2 separate regions of the Homo sapiens genome follow, and region 2 is linked to region 1. Evidence: promoter capture Hi-C in human tissues and cell types (Jung and others, 2019). All regions are on one chromosome and are shown on one strand. The core of a region is centred on a gene start or on the middle of the fragment in contact, and the rest is flanking DNA. Distances in the headings are between cores, read along the strand shown. Region 1 holds the start of TMEM116 (transmembrane protein 116). Region 2 overlaps ATXN2 (ataxin 2).

What was found. Contacts are between HindIII fragments. The study calls those that stand out against the background at their distance.
Region 2: a contact is called between a fragment that was not itself captured here and the fragment with the promoter of TMEM116 in region 1, in 1 of the 25 tissues and cell types used here (hippocampus).

The regions. Positions count from the first base shown.
Region 1 is chr12:112,008,352-112,015,866 of GRCh38, forward strand. It overlaps TMEM116 (transmembrane protein 116), which reads right to left and starts at 4,814. Exons shown (of 11, transcript NM_001193531.2): 1 at 4,651-4,814. It overlaps ERP29 (endoplasmic reticulum protein 29), which reads left to right and starts at 5,075. Exons shown (of 3, transcript NM_006817.4): 1 at 5,075-5,258. The coding sequence starts at 5,115. RefSeq lists enhancers at 2,772-3,285, 3,790-4,678, 4,549-4,738, 6,409-6,548 and silencers at 4,899-4,978, 5,319-5,408. The HindIII fragment of the contact is 14,663 bases long and covers 1-6,084 here.
Region 2 is chr12:111,451,132-111,458,646 of GRCh38, forward strand. ATXN2 (ataxin 2) reads right to left here. Exons shown (of 25, transcript NM_001372574.1): 22 at 6,083-6,228; 23 at 4,898-5,125; 24 at 2,546-2,714; 25 at 1,083-1,709. The coding sequence ends at 1,681. SH2B3 (SH2B adaptor protein 3) reads left to right here. Exons shown (of 8, transcript NM_005475.3): 8 at 1-492. Among named protein-coding and RNA genes, the nearest start is that of SH2B3, 49 kb to the left of the region's middle. The HindIII fragment of the contact is 9,101 bases long and covers 52-7,515 here.

The DNA of each region.
Region 1 (7,515 bases), core at 3,564-6,063:
GCGCCTGTAATCCCAGCTACTCGGGAGGCTGAGACAGAGAATTGCTTGAACCCGGGAGGCGGAAGTTGTAGTGAGCCAAGATCATGCCACTGCACTCCAGCCTGGATGACAGAGCAAGACTCCACCTCAAAAAAAAAAAAACCTCCTTAGCAAGTTCAAACCTATCCCAGTTCTTAACTTATTGGGCTACTGTATATTATATATCAATTCAAGTTAACACATATTCATAAAATTGCTATCATGAGCAAGTTACTCAAAGTCAGGAAAGACACTTGCCTTTGTAAAATATTTTTATTTAACCAAAAAGTTTTCTAAAAATAACATTTAAAGATTTCTAAGGCCAGGCACGGTGGAGTACGCCTGTAATCCCAGCACTTTGGGAGGCCAAGGTGGGTGGATCACCTGAGGTCAGGAACTTGAGACTAGCCTGACCAACATGGTGAAATCCTCTCTCTACTAAATACAAATAAATACATAGCCAGGCATGGTGGTGGGTGCCTGTAATGCCAGCTATTCAGGAGGCTGAGGCAGGAGAATTGCTTGAACCCAGGAGGTGGAGGTTGCAGTGAGCCAAGATCGCACCATTGCACTCCAGCCTGGGCAACAAGAGCGAAACTCCATTTCAAAAAAAAAAAAAAAAGATTTCTAGTAATAACAGTTACCAATTATGAAGTGCTTTTGAATTGTATCTTAGTAAAATTACTGCCAATAAAATGAAGTTTGGAACAAAAGCAAGGAAGGAAATGCCCAGTGCTAGAATTCACGGTGTAATGATTAATGGATGTTTCTGTCTGACTAAAAAGGATAATACTCACAATATAAAGTATAAAACAAACATTGTAAGAAGGAACTGAAGATAAAGATTGTAAGAGAGCACCTGACTACTCTAAATAAATCCACCACTCCTGGCCTGAACAAATTACCCTCCAGAATTTTGATAAAACTTGCCAGTTAACCCAATAAACCATTTGAGAAAAATTTGAGAGTTCATGTAAAAATGGGAAACTTGCTAGAAACCTGGTAATAACTAAATTAAAGGCAAAAAGATGTGAAATCTGCAAACCAAACCATATGTCAAGGATCTTAGTATTGATCCCAAATAAGATTCTAGAATGAATTGTCCAAAAGATGTGTTTGCAAACAATTAGAAAAAAAGTAACTGCTAAATCAGCATGGGTTTACTTAAAAAAAAAAAAAAAAAAAATGCTGGGTGCAGTGGGTCACGCCTGTAATCCCAGCACTTTGGGAGGCCAAGGCAGGTGGATCATTTGAGGTCAGGAGTTCAAGATGAGCCTGGCCAACATGGTGAAACCCCATCTCTACTAAAAATACAAAAAAAAAAAAATTAGCCAGGTGTGGTGGCAGACGTCTGTAATCCCAGCTACTCAGGAGGCTGAGGTAGGAAAATCACTTGAACGCAGGAGGTGGAGGTTGCAGTGAGCTGAGATCAGGCCTCTGAACTCCAGCCTGAGTGACCAAGTGACTCTGTCTCAAAAAAAAAAAAAACAAAACAAAACCTACTTCTAAACTAACCATGACTAGAAAGTCACTGCTGATCAATTCTACTAACTAGGTATAACCGAAGTTATTTATACTGAGAAGTGAATAATTTTAGAAGTTTAAATGTTTTATAAAGAAATTTTAAAACTCTTAATAGCTCCATATAGACTACAGAACAGAAAATTCTTAGTTTGACTTCAAGACTCCCTCCTATCTGAGCTTAAAACTGTTTTACTATCTCCTGTTTGGAGAACTCCCTTCAACCAAGCCAGTCATTCTCCCAAAGCATCATGTTCATTCCCGTATCTGCTCCTTTTCCACTTGTTCTCTATCTAAAATGTTCCTCCTTCCAAGGCTTAACTCTATTTCCACCAGTTACATAAAGCCTTGTTTCACCACCTCAGTTCATAGTTTTCCCTTCTTCTAATTTCTATCACTTGTCTTGTAGCTCATAGTGTTACGGGGTCTTTGGGGTGTCCATTTTCTGGCCAGAAACCTCTGTGGCCACAGTGCCTTTACCCGAGTTCTTGTCCTGCATCCAGGAAAAGAATGAGGTACGTGGACAATGAAGGGTGAACAAGACAAAGATGAACTTTATTGAGTGTTACAACAGCTCAGAGACCTCCAGTGGGTATTTCCTCTCTGTAGGCAGGTTGTCCATCAGGTATTCAGTTCTCAGTAGAGAGGAGGCCCTGGAGAGGATGGCTCCTCTCTGCAACTGATCGTCCTAATGTCTGCAGCTCTCAGAAGAGAGGAGGCCCTGGAGAGGGTGGCTCTTCTCTGCCCACAGGTTGTCTCTGCAGCTGTCAGCAGGGAGGGTAGGTCCTTTTTGCAACTGGCTGTTCCATCATCTCCAACTATCAGCAGAGAGGGTAGCTCCTCTCTTAGGCTTGTTGACCCATAGGTCTCTGCCCTCTTGGTCCTCTGGCAGTCCTCTGCCCTACTCTGGCTGAACCCAGGGTTTTTATGGACCTCCGAGGGGAGGAAGTACATGCCGATTGGTCCATGGGCAGGCCAGAAGATGCACCACGAGTCCCTACTCCAGTCTGCAGGACTGGCAGCCTGGACCCCTGTCTTCAGGCCCTCCCTGACCTGAAGGTGGGGTCTTACTGGGGACTCACCCACTTCTACCCTGGAATCAATCTGCCTCCCATTGCCATTCTTGGCCCCAAGCCCGCTCTGAGATTGGAGCAGGCCCCGGGAGTAGAGAGAGTCCAGGCGGTGGGAACAGACACTCCTGAGCCTGCAGGGATTGCAGTAGGGTGTCTTGCTGGTCCCCCAAGGGTGCAGGCTGCAGAGATGCCCAGGTCCTGCACCTGGGAGGGCAGCCACAATGGCACCAGGGGCTCCTGCCTCAACTCAGAAGGGGCGGGGCTCCCACAGGCTCCATGGAGTGTGCAGCCCCAGTCACACCTCCCTGCTGCAGCTGGCTGCCATCAATAGGGCAAACTCAAAATTTTTCTTAACTTCCCCAGACACATTCACACATACACACACACAAACACACACACACTTTCTTTCAAAATTTATATCCAATCAAACTGGTTGTCCATGATTGGATCCTGTTATCACTGTTGACTATTTATACACATACATTTTGGAAACATACAATGGTTAATTATAGCAGTAAGTCCCTTACAATGCATTGTATATGTTCTCTTACATGCATTTGTTCATCAAATCTTGTGAATTCTACCCTTTAAAAGTTTGTCAATTCCATCCATACTTCTTCAGCCCTATTATGTCCTACTGCATGACCTTAACCTCTTCCAACTAGACTATTGCCATACCCCATTAATTGGCTTTAGTCCCGTCTTCTCAATTCCAATCCATTTCCTTCATTCCTGAGTAATGTTGTTTTTGTTTTGAGACAGTCTTCTCTGTTGCCCAGACTGGAGTGCAGTGGCAGCAATCAGGGCTGACTGCAGCCTCGACCCCTCAGGTCCAAGTGATCCTGCTGCCTCAGCCTCCCAAGTACCTGGGACCACAGGCATGCACTACCACACATGGCTAATTTTTCTACTTATTGTAGAGACGAGGTTTCATTACGTTGCCCAGGCTGACCTGGGTGCTGTTTCTACACACAAATCTAACCTCACTCTCCTAGTTAAAACTTCTGGTGACTCCAAACCCTTTAGCTTGGTGAGACCCTTTCGAATCCGCCCCATGGAAGCTCAGTAATAATCAATCAAAATAAAAAAGAGCGGCAGCAGCTGTTGCGCCAGTTCGCCTTTACATAGATTCATCTCAACCAGTTCCCCAACATGCCTGTGCATAATTTTCCCATTGTTAGAAATGCCCTGTTTCTCTTTGCCTCATGCACGCCCCCTCTTATTTCAAGGTCCAGCTCAAAAGTCACCTCCTGTCTACAACTTCCTCTGATGCTCCTGAGCAGGGATGGCTGAATCTCTGTCTCTTTACAATAAGAAAATACGGTCTTTTTTTTTCTTTTTGAGACTGAGTCTCGCTCTGTCACCTAGGCTGAAGTGCAATGGCGAAATCTCGGCTCACCCCAACTTCCGCCTCCTGGGTTCATGCAATTCTCCTGCCTCAGCCTCTTGAGTAGCTGGGATTACAGGCACGCACCACCACACTCGCCTGATTTTTAGTAGAAACGGGGTTTCACCATGTTGGCCAGGCTGGTCTCGAACTCCTGACCTCAGGTAATCCACCTGCCTCGGCCTCCCAAAGTGCTGGGATTACAGACGTGAGTCAACGCGCCCAGCCGGAATAATATTTTACAGCAATTACACTGCACTGTTTAGATCATTATTCCTATGCCGCCTCCTCCCCCAACAAAGTGCGTGCCTTCAGCACACAACGGTCTTGTTTCTGCTTATTCCGTAGCCCCGCAGGCAAAGCCAGAGTCTGGCACAAGCCAGGGACCGAGTGACTACCTGCGGAACAGAATGATTAGAATTGCGTCTGGGGTTCCTGGAGGGTGGGCCTTGGCTGGGCGGATCCCAGGAGCCTGGCGTCTCCCAGGGGAGGCGCTCACCTCAGATCGGGCCTAAGAGGGCCCTGCTTGCCACACTGACCGCCAAGCCTGGCCAAAAAGCTCAGGGAAGCCGCGGAGCCACTGCCCGCCTGGGTCAGGGTGGTGACGGAGCCTGACTGAGAATAACGGCTGAACTTGACTAATAGACTGACCGAGGGTTGGAGCGGGTCCCAACCAACTGCCTGACGGCCCAAAGGCAGGAAGAAACGATGGTAGGCCTTGTCATCTTCGAAGGAGAGGAAGGACAGCAAACGAATTGCTATAGCGTCCCCATGCGCACTTGGCGCTTCTCCTCAAGCGGAGCAGGAACGGAACTGGGCGGACCCGCCGGAAGACTCGGCGAGTGCGCGCGCGCAGGAGCCCATTTTCCCGCCCGCAACGTGGCCCCGCCCTTTTACCCAGGCCCTACGCGAGCTTCGCCGAGTACGCGTGCGCAGCAGCTTCCCCTCCCTCGCCCCGCCCCTCACGTGGCCCCACCCTCTCACCCTAGACAGATGGGAGCCTCCTGGGGTGTCCACGTGAGCGCGCGTGAGTCCGCCCCCCCAGTCACGTGACCGCTGACTCGGGGCGTTCTCCACTATCGCTTACCTACCTCCCTCTGCAGGAACCCGGCGATATGGCTGCCGCTGTGCCCCGCGCCGCATTTCTCTCCCCGCTGCTTCCCCTTCTCCTGGGCTTCCTGCTCCTCTCCGCTCCGCATGGCGGCAGCGGCCTGCACACCAAGGGCGCCCTTCCCCTGGATACGGTCACTTTCTACAAGGTAACCGGGGCGGGGGACGTCGCGCGCAGGTGCCGCCGGGGCGCCCGGAAGAGCGCGCGCCCGTGGGGAGACGCTGGATTCCGGGAGCTGACGGGAGGTGGTCTGTAGCAACGGTCCCAGAGCTTCCCGGCGTCCTACAGGCCTAGTGGACTCTGAGCGGAGAATGTTATGACCACCGGGCATGCACGCTTCAGGGCCCCGGCGCACCCTTGCTTTTGCAGCATTTATACTTGCATCCACCCTTGCAAAGATGCAGCCGAGGGAACTGGGTGCCCCTTCCCTTCACCTGTGGGGAGAGGGCGGTGCCTGGCGAGATCCAACCCTCGAGTCCCAAGTGGGAGAACCGGAGGGCGGTGCGAGGTCGACGCCACCGGGCTCCCGGCTGTGGAAGCTGGGAGGGGTTGGCGGGGGGAAATGCAGGCGCGTTAGCCTGCGTGTCCGCGCCCCTCTTCCCAGGGTTGGATTGCAGCCTGCTTTGCAGTGTGCAAACAATGATCAGATATCATACATCTTGAATAGTGCAAGCGTGAAGAATAAGCTTCAGTTCAGCCACCCTGTAAAGCAGGGGTCCCCAACCACCAGGCCCGTCGGTGGCCTGTTAGAAACCGGGCCGCACAGCAGGAGGTGAGCGGCAGGCGAGCTAGCACTACAGCCTGAGCTCCGCCTCCTGTTACATCAGCTGCGGCATTACATTCTCATAGGAGCACGACCTTTATTGTGAACTACGCATGTGAGGGATCCAGGTTGTGTGCTTCTTATCAGAATCTAATGCCTGATGATCTGAGGCGAAACAGGTTCATGTCGAAACCACCCAACCCCGTGGAAAAGTTGTCTTCCATGAAACCAGTTCTTGGTGCCAAAAAGGTTGGGGATAGCTGTTGTAGGAAACATCTTGGGGTTGGCAACAAAATCAGTAAAATTGGGTCAAGGCATGGAAGAATTTGCCACTACCTCCGCCTTTCCCCCCTTCCATTTTTGCAGAATTAGGGATCCTGGCCTGAGTAAATGGACGGTTGGAAATGGTGGCTGAATGCAACACCGCAGTCCCAGTCCCCTCCTCTTGCACCTGTCTTCACCCACGAGCAGCTTTTAACTTCCTCTAGGAGATGGGCAAGCTTAGTGTTGCGAGAGAGCCAGTCATTTCATTTTCAGGTTTTGTACTCATTGTGGGGAAGTGAAACCAAGAAGTAGTTGTCTCCAGTGGTTGAAGTCTCCTATTTTCAAGCGTTCCCTGTCGTGGATTTGGCACTTGCAGCTCATTCAAGGCAAAGTTTCAAGAATTTAAAAGTGTAGGCCGGGCTTAGTGGCTCACGCCTGTAATCCCAGCACTTTGGGAGGCTGAGGCGGGTAGATCACCTGAGGTCAGGAGTTTGAGACCAGCCTGACCAACAAGGTGAAACCCCGTCCCTACTAAAAATACAAAAATTAGCTGGGCGTGGTGGTGGACACCTGTAGTCCCAGCTCCTCGGGAGGCTTAGACAGGAGAATTGCTTGAACCCAGGAGGCGGAGGTTGCGGTGAGCCAAGATCACGCCACTGCACTCCAGCCTGGGCGACAGAGCAAATACTCCGTCTCAAAAAAAAAAAAAAAAGTGTGGGCTGGGTGCGGTGGCTCATGCTTGTAATCCCGGCACTTTGGGAGGCTGAGGCAGGTAGATCACCTGAGGTCAGGAGTTGGAGACCAGCCTGGCCAACATGGTGAAACCCTGTCTCTACTAAAAATACAAAAATTAGCTGGGCGTGGTGGCGGGTGCCTGTAATCCCAGCTACTCGGGAGGCTGAGGCAGGAGAATTGCTTGAACCTGGGAGGTGGAGGTTGCAGTAAGCCGTCATCATGCCATGACACTCCAGCCTGGGCAACAAGAGCAAAACTCTGTCTCAAAAAAAAAAAAAATGGTGTAGGTGTGGCTGATTGGTTGTCAGGCATGCTCAGACACACCCTACAGCACCCTATGCTTTGGGGGCCTTTACTGGCAAAATGACACCCCTACCCCACCCTGCTCCATGGGAATCAGATAATATCACAGAACAAGTGTGACCCAAAGGGAAACTTTGCGCCATAAAGCTAACAGTGTTTTCTACTATTACCACCCTAGTCTAGGTCAACATTACAATAGCCTCTTCTCTGGTCTCCCTGCTTCCACTCTTGAGTCTCCACACAGTAGCCTAAGTTCTATATGACCTGACTCCTGGCTTCCCTCTCATCTCCCAACCATTCTCCTACTGTCTTTTGAATATTCCTTGCTCTTTACTGCCTT
Region 2 (7,515 bases), core at 3,352-5,851, 560 kb before region 1:
TTTTAGACCAGCAATCCATATGGCTTTATCTGGTATAAATCTTCTGCCTTTGATCATTTCTGGACCGTAGGAAAAAGGAATAGCAATCATTAAAATCTTGGGCCAGAGAACACTATTTTTACATAACAGTTTCTTAACCTAAAGTCAAGGCCTTGGACTCTTCCCTGAGGGTTGCCTGAGATTCCTTCATGCTTTCTATTCAGGACTAAGTCCCTTACTGCAAATGTGTTAGCTCTAACATCTCCCACAAGCTAGAGGAACTTGCGAGTATATTAACAAGGACACATCTGACATCCTGTGTTTGGTTAGAATATACAGCACATTGTGATAACATAAAGTGGATTCATCTTGTATCATTATAGGCAGAAGGTATTTGGCAAATTTTTATGTATTGTTTTATGTACTGTACAAGTAACTTATTCTTGAATAATGCAAATTTTGCTATAATGTACAAATTGCTATATGTGAATTAAAAAGTTTTCAGAATCTTGATTTGCTGTCATAATATTTAAAGGCTCTATTAAGACCATGGTGTCTCTACAAAATCCTTGCCCTGCCCAAATACTCGCTCTTCCCTTTGTCCTCCCCGTTGCAATCTGGGAATACTAACAAATGCTTATGAGTCCATCCATGTCAATAAGCAGCTTTGTACATCTTTGTATCTTTTCAGCCTTCATGCCCTCTGGATTTCTTTATTGCAATTTTTTTCTGAGTGTCTCCTGCCCCCTACTGGTAAAGTAGAAAAATGCCCGAATTGGGAACTTCCAGCTAATGACACTCATTTTGGTTCAGGAGATATTAAAAAGGAAGCTTACAGAATCGGTGTCAGCCCGAGGATGTGGAATTTCAGTGCTGCCCAACTCTGGCCAACCTTCCTCCTCCTGAAGCAGATCTCTAATCCACCAAAGAGAATAGCTCAGTCTTGTCTTTTTCTAGAGATACCTTGAACCAGAACTAAGGGTGAAGAAGAAAAATCATTTCACAGCTACCTTCCGGGATATTCAAAATGCACCCTTAGCACACCTGCTTTGATATTAAGTATCCTACAAAGAAGTAGCTTATACAGACACACACTAACTTGATCAGTTTTTAAAACTTTTTTTATTTTTTAAATTTTTTTTAAGTTTTTATTTTATATTATCTACAAAGTAAAAGTTTTTCCCTTAACTTAAAAGTTGAACCACTGTAGACAGTGATCACCTCATCAAACTTGATTTATAAATAATAATCCGTCAGTTTGACGGTAAGAATTTACTGAAACTTTGTCAAGTTTAGTAAAAGGGCGTTCCAAGTCTTGATTTTTTTTTTTTTTTTTTTTTAGCAGTAATAGCAGCAAGAATCACTCTTGTTACTTCTTTTGCTAGCTGATGTGTTCATGACTTTCAAGGGTTATTAAAAAATAAATAACTTCCAGTTTCGGCAAGCAGAGCTGGGGTACCTGCGGGACTCTGAAACAGCATATGGAATTATGGAATAGCCCCCAAGTTCCTAAATGCCTCTACTCGGTCCAAGTATCTTCCACTGCAAGTGAACTGTTAGCATTCCTATTGGATGTTACAAGAAATCAACATATATATTTTAAAAACAAAATAAATGAAATTCTAGTTTTCTGTGCTTCCAGTTGGTAGAAGCAGTAGAAGGGAGGAGGGAATTTGGCCTTTCGGTTCCTCCAGGGCAGCCTTACAACTGCTGTTGGTGGTGGGCTTGTACTGTAAAAAGAAAAGCGAACATTGAAACAGAAAACTGGCAACACCACACATCAGCCTAGTGTCTCTGCAGCACATGATTGTAAACTATCCTCGTGCTAGCTGAACAAAACTCAAAATTGAATTCGCTTTTCCCCCTCCCATCTGCACCAAAGTGGGGAGGGTTGGGTGGGTGGGTAGAAACAAACCAGTCAGACGTAAAACCACTTCAGATAAAACTCCCAGAAGACTTGTTCATGGGGTAGAAAAAAAGGCCTTAACAAACCCCCTCCCCAAATATTAGCCAAGCACCAGTATTGCTTTCAGAATAACAGGTCAGACTGTGAAGTATCGCCATGGCAGCCATCAAGTAGTAGAGCACAATCACAGGGCGCTCTCCCCTGTTCAGGGGCTGGGGCTAACGCTACACTCAAAGCCAGTCCATCCACAGCGCTTTCTCAGCAGTATCTTCTCCAGAGCTACAATCAAACTCTGCCATGGTAATAACCCCCCACATGTCAGACTTTTGGGACTCAGGAAGGAAAACACTGCCCTGTCCAGCCTGTCATAACAAGGAAGGCCAACTGAGTCCTAGGCATGCATCAGGCTGCTGTTGCTGCTGCTGCTGCTTCTCATCAAGCCAAATCCTGTATACCATCAGAACACACACAGACTCGGCTCCCGGAAGCCTCAGGCCCTGATGCTGAACTGATCGTCACAGTCCCTCCTGTGCACACTCCTGGACGGGTCTTGCTAGTTCTCAAATGCGGGGCTTGAAGCACTGGCCCTGCCTGCCATTCCACCTGTGCGAGCAGAATGCTTTGGGGTGCCCCGGCGGCCCCTGCACACACACGCCTCACCTGAAGGGTGCGTCATATAGGGGAAATGCGCTGTTGTCGAGACTGGAATGGGCTGTAGTGCACTTTGAGCGAGGGCGGCCTGGGGACCGCCGGGTGGCTGTGTCGTCATTAGCATCATTGGCGCATGGGCAGTTGGATGAGAAGGAACCATTCCTGACTGTACATGAGCCTGAAACAGAGAGCTCTTTTACGCATACAGGCAACATCTCCGGCTTCAACAACATGTCAACTGTGTTCCTTTCACTGGGCTGGGACTCTCAGGAAAGGGCAACGGTGGGCCTCAGGGCCCAGTTCTGTTCTCTGGGGACAATCTCTAGTAGATTATCTATTGACCTGAAGACGCGCTTCACCTTTGGGCAGATCCTGCAAGGGTCAGGGAGCAGGCAACAAGTGAGCCTGGGTAGAAGTCAGGGCTGTGCTGTCCTAACCCTTGACATTTCTGATCATTGTATTCTATGTATGGGGTAAGATCTTCACAAAGATTAGACACTGGATCCAAGGGCAGCTTTCTCAACTTAATATCATACAAGATTCAATGATGCTTCAGAATCAGGCTGCCATGTGGGGCCTGAGGTAGTTTTGCAGATAACATCCCTTTCAAATAGGAAAACAGATTACATTAATAAGCAGAGACTGTCACAGTCAAGTATGTGAATTACTTGGACCTCTGTTCATTTGCCTCTCTCCCTCTGCTTCTGGTCTGCTCACCAGGCAGTGAAAAGAGACTCTTAGGCCCCCGTGACTCTCTCAGAGATATGCTGATGGAGCAGGAGGAGGAGGAGGAGTTGGAGTTTTTAATGGCTCCAGTGAGATGGAAAGGAGTAACCTGAAGTCATCTGGGCCAGCCCAGCGTCTCTGTACCAAGTTCAACCTGGTCTCACTCACTGTCAAGTTGGAAAGGTGATTTTAGTCAGCCCAAACAGCTGGATTCCAGCTCTGCAGGGGGTTGGCAGGGCCAGGAAGAGCCCTTGTTTCCTTTTTCCCACACTGTGCACTGTTCTAGACTACGATAAGCCTTGGATGAAATGCCGTTTTTACTCTCACATATTCAAACGGGCACATGGCAAATTTGAGCTTCCCTGTGTTAACCTTTTTGCCCTTTCAGCACAAAAACAGAGTGAGGTTTTAGGGATCCCTGACTTACATGTAAGTTCACATGCCTACTTAGCCACCAGCCTCTGGTAGACACCTACAGGACCCCAGCTCTTATGAAGCTGACTCCACCAAACCACGCTGGCCCACACGGACCAAACCGGCTTCCCTCCCCACTATCAAAAAGCAAATCAACTGCAGTGCGCTACACCACAGAACCTAAACTTTGCAGGGTGAGGACGCCCAAACTTCCCAGAGCTGTGGAACTCTACTTACAAGGTAGCCTTCTGAGAGATAGATCCAACTGAGTCGCATCTCTAGCCCACACCTTGCCAGAGCCTCACTGGCGCACTATTTAACAGGAAATGGAATTCATTGTGGCAGGTCTCACTTAGACCCGCCTCAGAGAGTTCTGTTATGAAAGTAGCAGAGACATCTAATACAGCCAATTCACCCGTAACAGCCCCAGGGAGGGCCTCAAGGCCAGCGTTAGAGCCCAACTTCAGTGCAGCTCCTTCTCCTCATTAAGACAATCCCCTGGGCCCTGGAGTGCAGGGACCTTTGTCAGCAGCTGATGCAGACAGCAACCACTGAGATGGCAAGCACACCTTTCACCTGTAGCAGCTTACACTGGAGGTGAGCTCCAAAGTGCTTCCAGGGCTGCTCTTAAAGAAAAATGGGACCACCTGGGTGCTTCCAGCTTCTAGTTACACTGCACCAATGTCCAAGGCCAAGCCCTCTCAAGAGTACAACTTATGGTCAAAGCAGATATATGGATAACCAGGGAAAACAATTGGAGAGATGTGTCTGGAACTCATGTGAGTAACAATCAAGTTGACAGGCCCCGGTAGTCACTTCGGAGAGCTGAGACTCTGTGAAGGCCATCATCCCTGCCTGGCTTCCAAGGTAAGTGTGTAGGGGAATATATATGTACACATATATATAGTAGTGAGGCTATATAGACATAGCAAAGCAGACACAGAAAGGAAAGAAGGACTGGGTTGCATTCCAGAGTCAAAGATATTTTTAAGGTCTCAGTTGGAAAACTAAAGGACTGACCAATCAGCACCTTCACTGATCCCATGACAAAACCACACAAACATTCCCTTAGGGCCAGATCACGTGTATTTGAGAGGGAAAGGGAGACAGGCAAATGGCATGACACACAGGGTTTCCTAGCTGGGAGAGCCTCTAGCTGCTTACTGATAACCTTCACATTCTACTTGGCCTTCACAGAAAGTTGGCTAAAGCTGGTATTACCTGAGGTACGTGGGCCATGTGGGGTGGGTTGGTATACGCCGGCTGAACGTGAGAAGGATGGATCGTAAAGACAGTCTGTTGTGCTGCTGGGAAACTATTCTGTGGCGACTGCGTGTTGGAGGCAGGTGTCATGGAGGGTGGAGTTGGCGCAAGCCCCGCGTGGTAAATGGCTGACTGCTGCTGTGGACTGGCCAGATGGAGAGCCTGGGCGGCCTGGTGCTGATGGTGCTGCAAAGCGACAGGAAAGAATTGAGAGGAAAACTTCTTTAATGAAAAGCAGCCAAGGGATACCCACAAAGCTAAGCTTTGCACACTTGGGCCTATGATGAGGGTCACTGGAAAGTACAGGAGAATGTACAGGGTGGTAAGAGCAAGGCTGGAGGTGCCTCCCATCTGGACAACTCCTTTCTAGGGTACAGAAGCCTGATTCTCAGTCTGGCAGTTAGAAACTTCTGAGCATACATACTAAAGTCAAAAAAGACTACTGCCCCAGGGAACTGATAGATATCAAAGACATCTTTAACTGCCTCCATTAGCAAACATAATTCAAGAAGCTCATAGGAAAATAACCTCATCACATAAACCTTAGAAATTAAAAAGTCCCAAGCAAATAGGAATTTGCCTTATGAACTTTATGTTAAATTTGATTTTTCATTACTGCAAGTTTCCAGAGCTTATCCAATCACCTTATTATCAACATGTATCTTAAATGTGATTTTTTTTAATTTTTTATTTTTTTGAGACAGAGTCTCGCTGTTGTCCAAGCTGGAGTGCAGTGGCGCGATCTCTGCTCACTGCAAGCTCCGCCTCCCGGGTTCACGCCATTCTCCTTCCTCAGCCTCCCGAGAAGCTGGGACTACAGGCGCCCACCACCACGCCCGGCTAATTTTTTTGTATTTTTATTAGAGACGGAGTTTCACAGTGTTCGCCAGGATGGTCTCAATCTCCTGACCTCGTGATCCACCCGCCTCGGCCTCCCAAAGTGGTGGGATTACAGGCGTGAGCCACTGCGCCCAGCCTTTAAATGTGATTCTTAAAACCACCACCCCAGGGGCACAGCTGTATCCATCTTCACGAGGGTGGACATGCCATGTGTTCTGACGATGCGATACCTGGCACCTGAAGAAAGCACTCAGATACTAGGATAAAGAAGCCACTCCATGCAGACCTCTGAGTTGCCCTTACCTGAACAGGACTGGGTGCAGGATGACTTCCACCATGTTGGCTTTGCTGCTGTCCAGTGGGGGTAGCTGAAGGCTGAGGGTGTGGAGTATGTGGGTGCAGGGTAGCGTTAGGGTGCGCATACTGCTGAGCAAGGGAGCCCGTGGAAACTAAAGTGAAAGAAAAAGGAGCATGTACACAACCGATGTCTGACAACCTCCATCGCTCCTCTACACTTCATCAACTGAACTTTCTTGATGGTTACAATGCATAACTCACGCCACTACCAATTTCTATAGATGACTCCATTTAAACCATCCATTGTCTTGAAAAAATAAGTGTAGCTATTGCTTAACAGACTAGCATTTGGTTCATATAATACAGCTCTACATATGATATTAAAATCAAATTAGTTTGCATTTACTCTTAACGGTCACTAGGTTTTCCCAAAAAGGCAACTTGAAGGCATAGGCAGAAACTACTCAAACAAGTGCATTTTAGGTGCACACTCTTTAGCTCAAGGCCATCATCAGGCTAACCTCACCATGCTACTGCCCTGGAGCAATGTCCTGAGGGCACAGACTATATTGGGTGTGGTGGGGGATGGGGGTGCGGGCACTGTGTATGGTATGTGGCAAGGCCAGGGATCTATCATCAGGGCCGAAGGACCACAGTCTCTCTCAGCTAATCACAGGAGCCCTTCTGCCACTCAGTTTACTTTCCCAAGCCCTAATGGAGGATCTCCCATCTTTGCTTTATGAAATAAATATAGAAAAGTAAACTCCCTTCTGAGTGCCCCAGCCCTTTGGAAAGAAATTTACTAGACTAACTTCAAAGGACAACATGATGGGCCAGTTTAAATCAAAATAAAGATAAGAACTGAAAGCCAGTTCTTTGTGAATCTCAGCGTGGGCCAAACCTTGGTACAAAAACCATTTCTTCATGTCTTTCAGTTTTTTGTTTTTTGTTTTTTTTTGAGATATAAGTCTCACTCACTCTGTTGCCCAGGCTCACTGCAACCTCTGCCTCCCAGGTTCAAGCAATTCTCCTGCCTCAGCCTCCCGAGTAGCTGAGATTACAGGCATGTGCCACCACGCCCAGCTAATTTTTGTATTTTTAGTAGAGATGGGGTTTCGCCATGCTGGCCAGGCTGATCTCAAACTCCTGACCTCAAATGATCCGCCCACTTCAGCCTCCCAAAGTGCTGGGATTACAGACGTGAGCCACCGTGCCTGGCCTGTTCATGTGCTTCAAAAACAGTAAGTTGAGAATCAGAAGCAGAGTAGGATGTGTTCACTGCTTCCAGTGACTATGGACAGCACACCGATGATAAAAAACTAACCTCCACGAGGCAATGAGCTGAGAATAGAGCGTTCTCAAGACAACTCTAGCAAGGTATAGTTCCCAGCCCTCTCTTGAGAAACAAATCCTAAAATCCCTCAAGATAATAAGCCCAT